Linked DNA regions of Homo sapiens: all the other regions are linked to region 3. Evidence: promoter capture Hi-C in 16 types of primary human blood cells and fetal thymus (Javierre and others, 2016). All regions are on one chromosome and are shown on one strand. Each heading gives the region's core, a stretch centred on a gene start or on the middle of the fragment in contact. The rest is flanking DNA. Distances are from core to core; before and after follow the strand shown. Region 1 overlaps ADAMTS9 (ADAM metallopeptidase with thrombospondin type 1 motif 9). Region 2 overlaps ADAMTS9-AS2 (ADAMTS9 antisense RNA 2). Region 3 holds the start of ADAMTS9 (ADAM metallopeptidase with thrombospondin type 1 motif 9).

Region 1 (3,161 bases), core at 229-2,728, 150 kb before region 3:
GACTAAAAGAAATCAGCTATGGCTGGCGCTTAGTAGATATGCAAAAAGATGGTATCTGTCTTACATTTTCTAATTGTTTTGTAAGTGTTCGTGTGATCTCTTCAATGTAACAGTAAGCTTATTGAGAGCAGGGCCTTACTATTGCTTTGTTTATTGAATCAGCTATGGTTTGTAACATACGACTAGCCACTTAAATATTATATCCCAGCTCCTCAATTAAGATTTCCAGGACTAAGTGTAGCTTAGAGGTCTCTCAATGCCAGTTCCATAAATATTGACTAACAAAAGTTTATAAACACTTCTGGAGTGCTAGATTCCACAAGATAGAGGTGACCAGAGGACTTAGTTTGGACTAAATCAGTGGTTCTCAACAGGGCACGATTTTGACCCCAGGGGAAATCTGGCAATGTCTGGAAACATTTTTGTTTGTCACAACTGTGGGGGGGCAGGGAATGGTGCTGCTGTTGGCATCTGGCGGGTAGAGACCAAGGATGCTGCTGCGATGCACAGGACAGCCCACAATAGAGAATTCTCCAGCCCGAAAAGTGCTGAGGCTGATTGAAAACCTGGTACAAAGGGTAGATTTACCCTAGAATCTTGCTCCCTTCTTTACTTTCAGCATGACCTCAGGCAAGGAGATCATCTGTAAAATGGATTAGTAAGACTTAACCTGTGAATAGGAGGTGATTAGACAGAAGGCACAATGCACGTCACGCATTACCTGGCAGACAGTAGGTAATATTTAAAAAATATTTTTGGGCTGAGTGTGGTGGCTCACACCTGTAATCCTAGTACTTTGGGAGGCTGAGGCAGGTGGATCACCTGAGGCTGAGAGTTCAAGACCAGCCTGGCCCAACGTGGTGAAACCCCATCTCTTCTAAGAATACAAAAATTAGCTGGGCATGGTGGTGTGTGCCTGTAATCCCAGATGCTCGGGAGACTGAGGCAGGAGAATAGCTTGAAGGCAGGAAGTGTAGGTTGCAGTGAGCCCAGATTGTGCCACTGCACTCCAGCCTGGGCAACAGAGTGAGATTCCATCTCACATATATATACATATGACATTTTTATGACAATATGCTACAGAGGTTCATGGTTCTTATGTGGCATGGCTGCCATGCTCAGGTGTTTTTGATTGTAGCTGCACTGAAGCCCCCTCAGACACCGGATTCTGTATGTTGCATTATTCCATTGGCCATTTTCTTTTCTTTTCTTTTCTTTTTTTTTTTTTTTTTTTGAGACAAGGTCTCACTCTGTCACCTAGGCTGGAGTGCAGTCGCATAATTTTGGCTCACTGCAACCTCTGCCTCCCGGGTTCAAATGATTCTCCTACCTCAGCCTTCTGAGTAGCTGGGACTACAGGTGTGCACCACCACGCCCAGCTAATTTTTATTTTGGTAGAGATGGAGTTTCACCATGTTGGCCAGGCTGGTCTTGACCTCAAGTGATCCACCTCCCTCAGCCTCCCAAAGTGCTGGGATTACAGGCATGACCCACCGCACCTGCCACCCCCTCCCCCCAAAATTTTCTTATCTTACTATCATTCCTGCCCCCAGGAGTGGGTCCACATAACTCAAAGTGCCCAGGCCATCCTAGTGCCAAGAATGTCCCTCTTTTCTCCCTCCATTCTGCTTTCCACTCAGACTGCCTGTCCCACCTGCACTGCAAGAGAAAGGAGACTTGATCTGCTTTGGCACTGAAGTTTTCCGGAGGTCCAGGCGGCTGACCCAGCTTCTTTCTGGACAATGCCCCCAGCCGACCTGGGCGTCCAGTGTCTGAACATGCTCAATATATACGTCTACTAAGTCTGCCTTCCCAGAGGGGTTGATGAACCCAGATGCAACAGGAGATCATCCTCCTCATTCTCCTTCTGCCCTTTCCAGTTTAGGGATCTGCATTTCAGCAAATGTCCTAGCTGATTGTTAGCACTCTGAAAGTTGAGTTCCACCAGAGAAGTAAAGACCTAATGTTCTTTCTGGCTCTGCTCTGGGACATCTTTGCCCTTAAAGGCCTTATCTTCAAGGTCTAAAGGGCACATGAGTTGTAAATACCACCTTCTGTTGCCTATTCTAAAGAAGAGTGATTGAGAGTTATACGTTTACTAGTTGGTCCGTAAAGGTTTGCAAAAGATGTGCTTAGACCAAAGGATAATCCTGTTTTCTGTTGTACAGGAGCAAATGTTGCAGAAATCTTGCCTGAAAACAGAATCAAAAAGACATGTCTACTATCATGGATATGAATTCAGACACACTTAGGTTCAAATCCAGACTCTACTGAGCGGCAGCTGTGTAGGTTTGGGCAAATCCTCCCAATTTCTACTCCTTACCCTCCTCCTCTTTAAAAAGGAGGCATTTTCATAGAATACTGTGGTGATTTAAATGCTACATTGAGTAGACAATACTGAGTACAGTGACTAAAGCAAAGACGCATAATAAATGCTAGCTATTAATACCATCAATAATAATAGTGTCACATCTACTGTCATCAGGATAAAAAATATTCTGGTTATGTTTCAAGATGAGGGCTGTCGGGGAATCCACTCTTATTAATAAATACATCCACAAAGCAATAGTGGTCAATGAGGTAAAAGAAAGAAATTCTCAAACACAACATCATTCTGCTTTGATTTCTGTGCAATCACTAGGTCAAAGGCTGAACCACCTACTCCGAAGCAGTCTCCACAATCACGCTTTCTACAAACCTTTTCCTGGAAAACTGATTTGAAAAACTCACATCTTGCATCAGTGTAGCTGGTGCTCAATATGTGTCTAAGGAATTGAATTCTTAAAGTACCCAATATGGTTTGAAGAATGAGCTGGGAAAAAATACAAATTAGCCTCTCTCAAGCTTTGGGTTTTCTCATTTAGGAATTGCTTCATTGTCAGGATTTAGCAAATCAATCAGTTCATTTGTCTCTGAATTATTAAAATAAATGAATGCAAGTTACTTTTCATTTACTTAAGCTTCCCAAAGGATGTGCATATAGAAACAAGAAAATCCTGAGACATTTGAAAAAGGCAGGACAGGGCCAATCTGTTAGCCACTAAAATGCAACAGATACCAATGGGGTTTTTGAAGCCATCAATTGCCCTAAAAAAAACTGTACTTCAAAAGTTTTTGATTCCTGGGTAATGGAAGAAAGGCTCTTTTTACCATTATGTCCT
Region 2 (3,076 bases), core at 338-2,837, 230 kb after region 3:
ACAGAGTTTACCTGCTAAAAAGACAAGATGTACTTTAAAAGGGAGTCTTTGGGAATGAGGATTATTTTTGTGTTGCTAAACTGTGCCAGAAAGAAAGCAGTTCATTATCTTATCTCTTCCTGTCCTGTCCATTGAGTTTGTGGTTTTAATGAGATAAAAATTTAACCATTTTCTTGCACTTTCAAATGCAAATGAGTCTCTCATTGGAGTGAGCAGAAAGCAAAGCTGAGATGTCATCATACCAAGGAAGTTTAGGAAGTCCATAATCATTGTAGCAATAATTACTATCATTTTTTAAGCATCTTCTGAGGGCTGGGCTTTTTGCTAGGTGTTTTCCCATTAATCCACACAATAAGGATGTATTATTGCCTCCACTTCACTTTGGTGGCCAATGAGGCTTAGAAATGCATAGTAACTTGCAGAAAGCAAAGTCTGGATTTAAACTTGACTGTCTGCTTTTTTGACATGACCCTTGTTAAAGCAAATTTAAAATGGGAACCAGGCCTGAAGAATACCTGAGTGGACAAAGCCAGTTAGGCCTCAACCTTGCGTGATTTGCAAGCATAAGTGAAACTTAATTTGAACTATTTTTTAAAAATGCCTGTATTAGAGAAAAATAGAACTTAAGCTCAACCAGTAAGAAGCAGCAAACAAACTTAGGATTATATAACTACAAACTTTCCGGGGATTGATCAAATAAGGCAACTGTATAACTGTAACCAGTGAAATATTTTCTCTGCGCTACTTCCATGTTCATCCTATAAAAGCTTCTTCCCCCTTGTCTTCCCTTGGTGGAGTTTCTGAACCACTTTTGGTTTGGAGTTCCCGGATTCATGAATCACTATTTATTCATATAAACTCTTTAAAAATTATATTGTGCCTGAGTTTACCCTCTTAATACTCTTTAGCTCAATTTAAGAATATGGTATGCTATAGAATGCAAATGCCTACTCCTCCTGGATGTCTTCTCTGTTACCCTTTCTTCTACAGGTAAGGTTCTGATGATAAACACATGGCAGTTGAGCCACAAATCCCCTCACTTCCACTTCTGGCAGACATTACTAATTGATCACAGCTCCCTTTTTCAGTGAAACTCAAGGACCGGAGAATCTTCAATACAGTATTCCAAAGCAGTCAGTCTCAACAAATTGACTATAGTTAACAGCTGACATCTATTTGAATCTCTGCTATAGTACCTTGTTTATGACTCTATTAATAGCACATATGACATTATATTTTAGTTATTTACCTCCCTTTTAGTTTTTGCTGGGAGACTATGAGACTCCAGTGGCAGGCCCATTCATCTTCCTCAATCCAGCACCCTGTACACAGTCTACTATGTAACACAATGGGCACCTAGTAAGTTTTGTTGGATCAAATGTAAGTACTTGTAGTTTAAACCTGTTTGACTACCAAATGCCATACATCCATATGACTGCACTACTGCCTAATACTAGCTTTCAAGAACTTTTCCAGATGACTCCTGAGCTTTATTCCAGAACTTTCCTAGGTAATCATCAAGTGTCTCTCATTGTGTCTCTTTGGGTCCACAAAAGAAAAGAAATGAGAAATGAATTAATGATTAATGTCCTGGAGAAGTCTTTCTCCCTTTTTAGTTTATTTCAGCCAGAACCACCTTAGGCTGTATTCTGTGTGGCCTCTGTGAGAGGTGCTATGTGGTACAGAGAGGAGTAAGACTTGTTCCCGGACATCAGGGTACTCACAGGCATGTGGGGAGGCAGCCATATAATGACAGTGGGGTTGTCATGGAGAAAAGCAGGTGACACCTTGGGTGAACAAGGCTTTGTCCAAGAAAATCTTGAAGAGTGAAAAAGATTTGGCCAGGAGGAAAGGGAAAGAAGGATGTTTAAAGCACAAAAAACATTGTGCTTCTGAGTCTAAATCCAGGCATTCCAGGGATGTGACTGTTGATTTCAAAGTCCTCAAAGTATACGTTTTATCTGTCTCTCAAAATGCTTTGGGATCTTCCAAGTAGAACTTCAGTAGATCTGCCCTGAATCTCTGGAGCCTGCCATTGTACATATGCTTTCTACACCAACACATGGAAATAGTCTTTCATTTATTTATTATTTTAATGCAGCGATTGATCATGGTTGTTGAGGGGGATCATGCATTTTTTAGGATTTCAGCACACCTTTTACATACCCTGAGGGTCCACCTTCTGAAATCAATGAATGCCTCATGAGCATATTCTTTCAGAATTGAAACCTTCAAAAAGAGGCACATAATTTCCCCAATTTCCTATGAAAGACATTATTCAAATGTCCTCAAGTGACGGATGGTCTAATAATCTGCAAAAACGTGCTCCTTACACTCTGAGGTCAGCCCTGTTTTACTTAAAAGTTTGCACTCATACAAGTACCATCTGGAGCCCACATCCTCTGTCTTAAGCTTCAAATAAATCCTGATTTACCTCAGAAACATTTGCCAAGAGTCTGCTTGCTAGAAAAATTACCAGTTTCTCCCCGTTTGAGGCATACCTTTGCAATAAATGAGCATAGTAGGCATTTAATAAAAGACTGCCCATTGGGATGCTCTTTAGGATGCTAAAAAAGTTACCTGTTGGGGAACAAAAATTGGGAAATTGCAGCTACTCCTTTTTGTGGATGGGGAGGACGGCGGATCTGGAAAGACTACACAATTTTTTTTTTTTTTTATCTGGGTCATCCTAATCCAAATTAAAGCTGCATGTGCTGCCTCGACATTCTGACTCAATACCGCTGCAGTTTCCTTACAAAACATTTTTCAGCTCTCAGTATGGGGCACATTTTGATCTGATGATGTATGTAGGTAGAAGAAGAATGGATGGATGCTTGAAGATGGACTTCAAATCTCAAAGGGATCATGTGCTATTGTGTTCCTTGAAAAGCCTGAGGAATGCTTTATGCTTAGTCTAACCCACAGTCTGCTGGTGGCATGTTTGCAGCTAACACCTTGCAAAGGGGAAACAGGGCCTTGGGGGCCCATGTTTTCTCTCTGGGACAAAAACCAAGGTGCGTATATGATTTCTCTAATAATTCTAAGGTGTTATCCAAACTCAGTCCTGGGTCCAATG
Region 3 (3,326 bases), core at 511-3,010:
CCGCAACTCCAGTAACTTTCTCCGAGTTTGGAAACTGACTTCCAGGCCGCCTCGCAGCGTTGGGCAACGCGCCGCTGAACCGAGTCCAAACTCCAGAAAGCTCTGAAACATCCAGAAGCCCCTGGGGGCGGGTGTGTGCGCTCCACGCCAGTGTACTCGCACGCACAGAGCTAGCTACCCAAACCATACGAGTTTCTAGCTGATATTTAACGCCGGAGAGGAGCGGAGCCTCGCCACAGTGAGGGTCTCTAGGCTTAGAGGACAATTAAGTCTTCTAGAAGCGGGCGAGGAGGCGGAAGGGGAGAGGAGGTGGCGCGCGCCCACTTACCATTCCTGAGCAGAGGCTGATGACGGCCGTGTGCTCGGAGTTGGTATTGACATAGCCTTTGTAGAAACAGTGCTTGAGTTCCGCTTCCTCTTCGGAATAAAACTTGGTCTGATTCACCCCGGGCGTCCCGAGGAGGGTGACAGTGAACAGTGGAGCGATAAATCCGGCATTGGCGGTGAGATTAAATAGAAACTGCTGGCCGAAGGCAGAGAGGCGGTAATGCGCCTGGGAGGAGGTAGAGGAGGAAGAGGAGGAGGCGAAGGCAGGCCAGGGGTCAGTGGCAGAGTTAATGCTCCGTCGCGTTCTTTTGAAGTGGACGTTCGTGGGAAAGGGTTCTCCGAGAGCGTTCACTCGGATGGGAGACACGATTTCGTATTCGCTCAGGGTCTCTAATAATTTCACTGCGGAGAGAAGCAGAGGTATATGAACCAATAATTCATTTTTCCTTAAGCTTTAATTTAAAACGAAGGTGGGGACTTTGTTCTGACCTTATTTTCCAGCCCATTCGAGTCAATCCCTTCACCCTTAATCAGTGGACAAATATTTGCTGAGCACCTACTATGTGCCAGTAACAGGACCTGTGCTAGGTGCTGAGGATACACTATTCCGAGCCAGACAATTAACAAGTCAAAATATATATGATTTCAGATATTGATAAATAACCTGAATAAAATAAAACATGACGCTATCTGGTGCCCCCAATTACTAAGTTACTTTAGTTTGCGGCGTGGGAGTGGGGATGGGGATATATCTGGCAACAGCAAGGTAGGGGGGGGTTGCCTAAATTCGTTTCCATAGTGTCCCTCCCTAGCAATTGGTTGGGGATGACCCAAAGAAGGGAGAGGCTGCAAAGCGGGAGATAATTCTTTCTAGGAAAAGGAGAGAAGCCTCCGCTGCGGGGTGCCCCTGCCCAGGAGCGAGGACCGGGAGGCGGCGTCGGGGCCGGCGGGGTCCCGGGGGCCGGAGCCTGGTTACCTTGCCTCGGGTGCAGCCTGTCCTTGCGCACGGCCGCCGCGGCGTCTGGGCTCCCCATCTCGGCCAGGTCCCGCACCAGGAGCGTTAGCAGTGTGGCCCAGGATACAAACTGCATGGTGCTTCCCACCCCTCCCTCCGCTGCCCCCACCCCCCTCCCTCCTGCCCTCCTTGGCTGCGGCGGCGACGCGAGGCAGCGGCCGTGGAGAGCGCGCGGAGCCCGGCGCCCGCCGCCAACTTTTGACTTTAGGAGTCGCTGAGGTCTCGCTGCGAGGGTCCCGTCTGCGCTCGGCTGAGCAACGCCGCCGCCTGCCGAGAGCTGAGCCGCTCGGGCCGCAGGAGGAGCCGGAGGAGCAGGAGGAGGAGGAGGACTGGGGCTCGGCTGCTTGGCCGCATAATGCCCAGCGAGCGGGCAGGAGAAGGCGAGGAACTTGCGCTCCGAGGCGCGCCGGGCGCCCTGTGCTGGCCGGGATAGCTGAGCGGCTTCTTGAATGGGGGGCTGGGGGGGCGGAGGCGGGGGGGCCGCGGGTCCACAGCCTCTCAAATGCCCCCGGTGCACGCCTCTAAGAGGAGGAGAGGGGAGGAGAAAGCGAGACGAACGGGGACCGCCTCCTTCCAGACCATGTCCCCTCCTCGGCCGGCCCGTGCGGGACTCGCAGCCGGAGGCCCTGCCGGCTGCAAGAGGCGGAGGCCAGAGGCGTCACCAGCGCCGGGGCAGCTGTTCCTGGTCCCCGCCACCTCGCTGAAGTGGGGTTTTCTGAGATTCCCTGCCCCGGGGAGGGAAAGCAGGGAAAGTTCTCTCCCTTTCCTGGCGCGCGTGCAGCCACTTCCCCTCTCGTCTTTTTCCTCTCCTCTCCTCTCTCTCCTCCCTTCCGAGTCTCTTTTTCCTCCTCCCCCTTGTCTCTCTGCTGCTGTGCCTCTCGGACTCTGTCCCTTCTCCCCATTTTCCCCTGTGATGTCTGTCTTCTCCCCGCCCCACCGTGTCCCTGTCTGTTTCTCACATTTCTCCTTTTCCTTTCCTTTCTCTTCCGTCCCCATCTCTTGCCACCAGTCCCCATCTTTTGGTTTCTTACAAGTGAAAGTGGCCCAGCGCCGGAGCGCCTTCCCTTCCTACACTTTTTCATTCGGGAAGAGATTTGGCACCTGAGCTCCGCTCTCGATTTAATCACCCCAAGTCAAGAGTTTTAGAAATGGGGTTCTTAATCCTGCAGGTCGGAGTGTGTTTCTAATACGTGGTCTCTTGAAAATTTCGCAAAATATTTAAGCTGTGCTTTCCACCAACCTCTGTCACCATTCATGGAGGGTCCATAGCATTCTGTAGGTCCCCTGCCCCAAAAAAGGTTAAGAACAAATTTTGGCAGCAAGAAGGGGCGGGGACTCTGGCGCCCCTCACTACCAGGGGGTTTAGAGATGGGAGGGGAAGGGGGGATGGAGTGTAAAGTTGTAGATCCCTGTGGGAGGCACCAGTCCCTGGAGGGATTTCTCAATCACTTCCGCTTGCTTTCAGCCTGAGAGATGCTTGGAAAGACTGGGAAAGACTGAAAGCAGGCGCTTCAAGCTACACCTTCGTGTGTGTGTGTGTGTGTGTGTGTGTGTGTGTGTGTGTGAATTGTTCAATCTTGGGTGGTTCAGTGGCGCCTTTTCTTTAACCAGCCCTCAGGAAGATAGAATTTCAAGATAATTTCAAGAGGAAAGACATGACAATATCGTTAAAAATATATAAATATATGACTAATAAATATATATTTGCCCAAGTATCCTAGAACGGGGGTTGAGGTTCTGTTGCGTGGTAGGTTAGCACTCAGGACTAGAAATACCAAAGATTGCCAACACCAGGAACCAAATCGCAATATGCTAGCAATGTCAACTATTCTTGAGATACTAATACATATATTTCTTCTGGTGAAGGGTAAAAATGACTTGGCAAGACGAATTTGCTAAATAATTGTTAACCCAAATTGATAATGTTACCATCGTCTTATTACTGGAATTTCATAATGGATATGTAAAATGTAAGGATGGAAAA

The links. The method cuts DNA at HindIII sites, captures the fragments that hold promoters and counts their contacts. A CHiCAGO score of 5 or more calls a contact.
Region 1: a contact is called between a fragment that was not itself captured here and the fragment with the promoter of ADAMTS9 in region 3, in 1 of 17 cell types (endothelial precursors). The highest score is 5.1, in endothelial precursors.
Region 2: a contact is called between a fragment that was not itself captured here and the fragment with the promoter of ADAMTS9 in region 3, in 1 of 17 cell types (endothelial precursors). The highest score is 5.2, in endothelial precursors.

What each region holds. Positions count from the first base shown.
Region 1 is chr3:64,534,338-64,537,498 of GRCh38, forward strand. All of the region lies in intron 37 of ADAMTS9 (ADAM metallopeptidase with thrombospondin type 1 motif 9), which reads right to left. Among named protein-coding and RNA genes, the nearest start is that of ADAMTS9-AS1, 25 kb to the right of the region's middle. The HindIII fragment of the contact is 2,727 bases long and covers 116-2,842 here.
Region 2 is chr3:64,919,063-64,922,138 of GRCh38, forward strand. All of the region lies in intron 4 of ADAMTS9-AS2 (ADAMTS9 antisense RNA 2), which reads left to right. All of the region lies in intron 2 of LOC105377124 (a long non-coding RNA gene), which reads right to left. Among named protein-coding and RNA genes, the nearest start is that of ADAMTS9, 230 kb to the left of the region's middle. The HindIII fragment of the contact is 1,645 bases long and covers 766-2,410 here.
Region 3 is chr3:64,686,240-64,689,565 of GRCh38, forward strand. ADAMTS9 (ADAM metallopeptidase with thrombospondin type 1 motif 9) reads right to left here and starts at 1,761. Exons shown (of 40, transcript NM_182920.2): 1 at 1,304-1,761; 2 at 329-729. The coding sequence starts at 1,418. All of the region lies in intron 1 of ADAMTS9-AS2 (ADAMTS9 antisense RNA 2), which reads left to right. The HindIII fragment of the contact is 3,589 bases long and covers 778-3,326 here.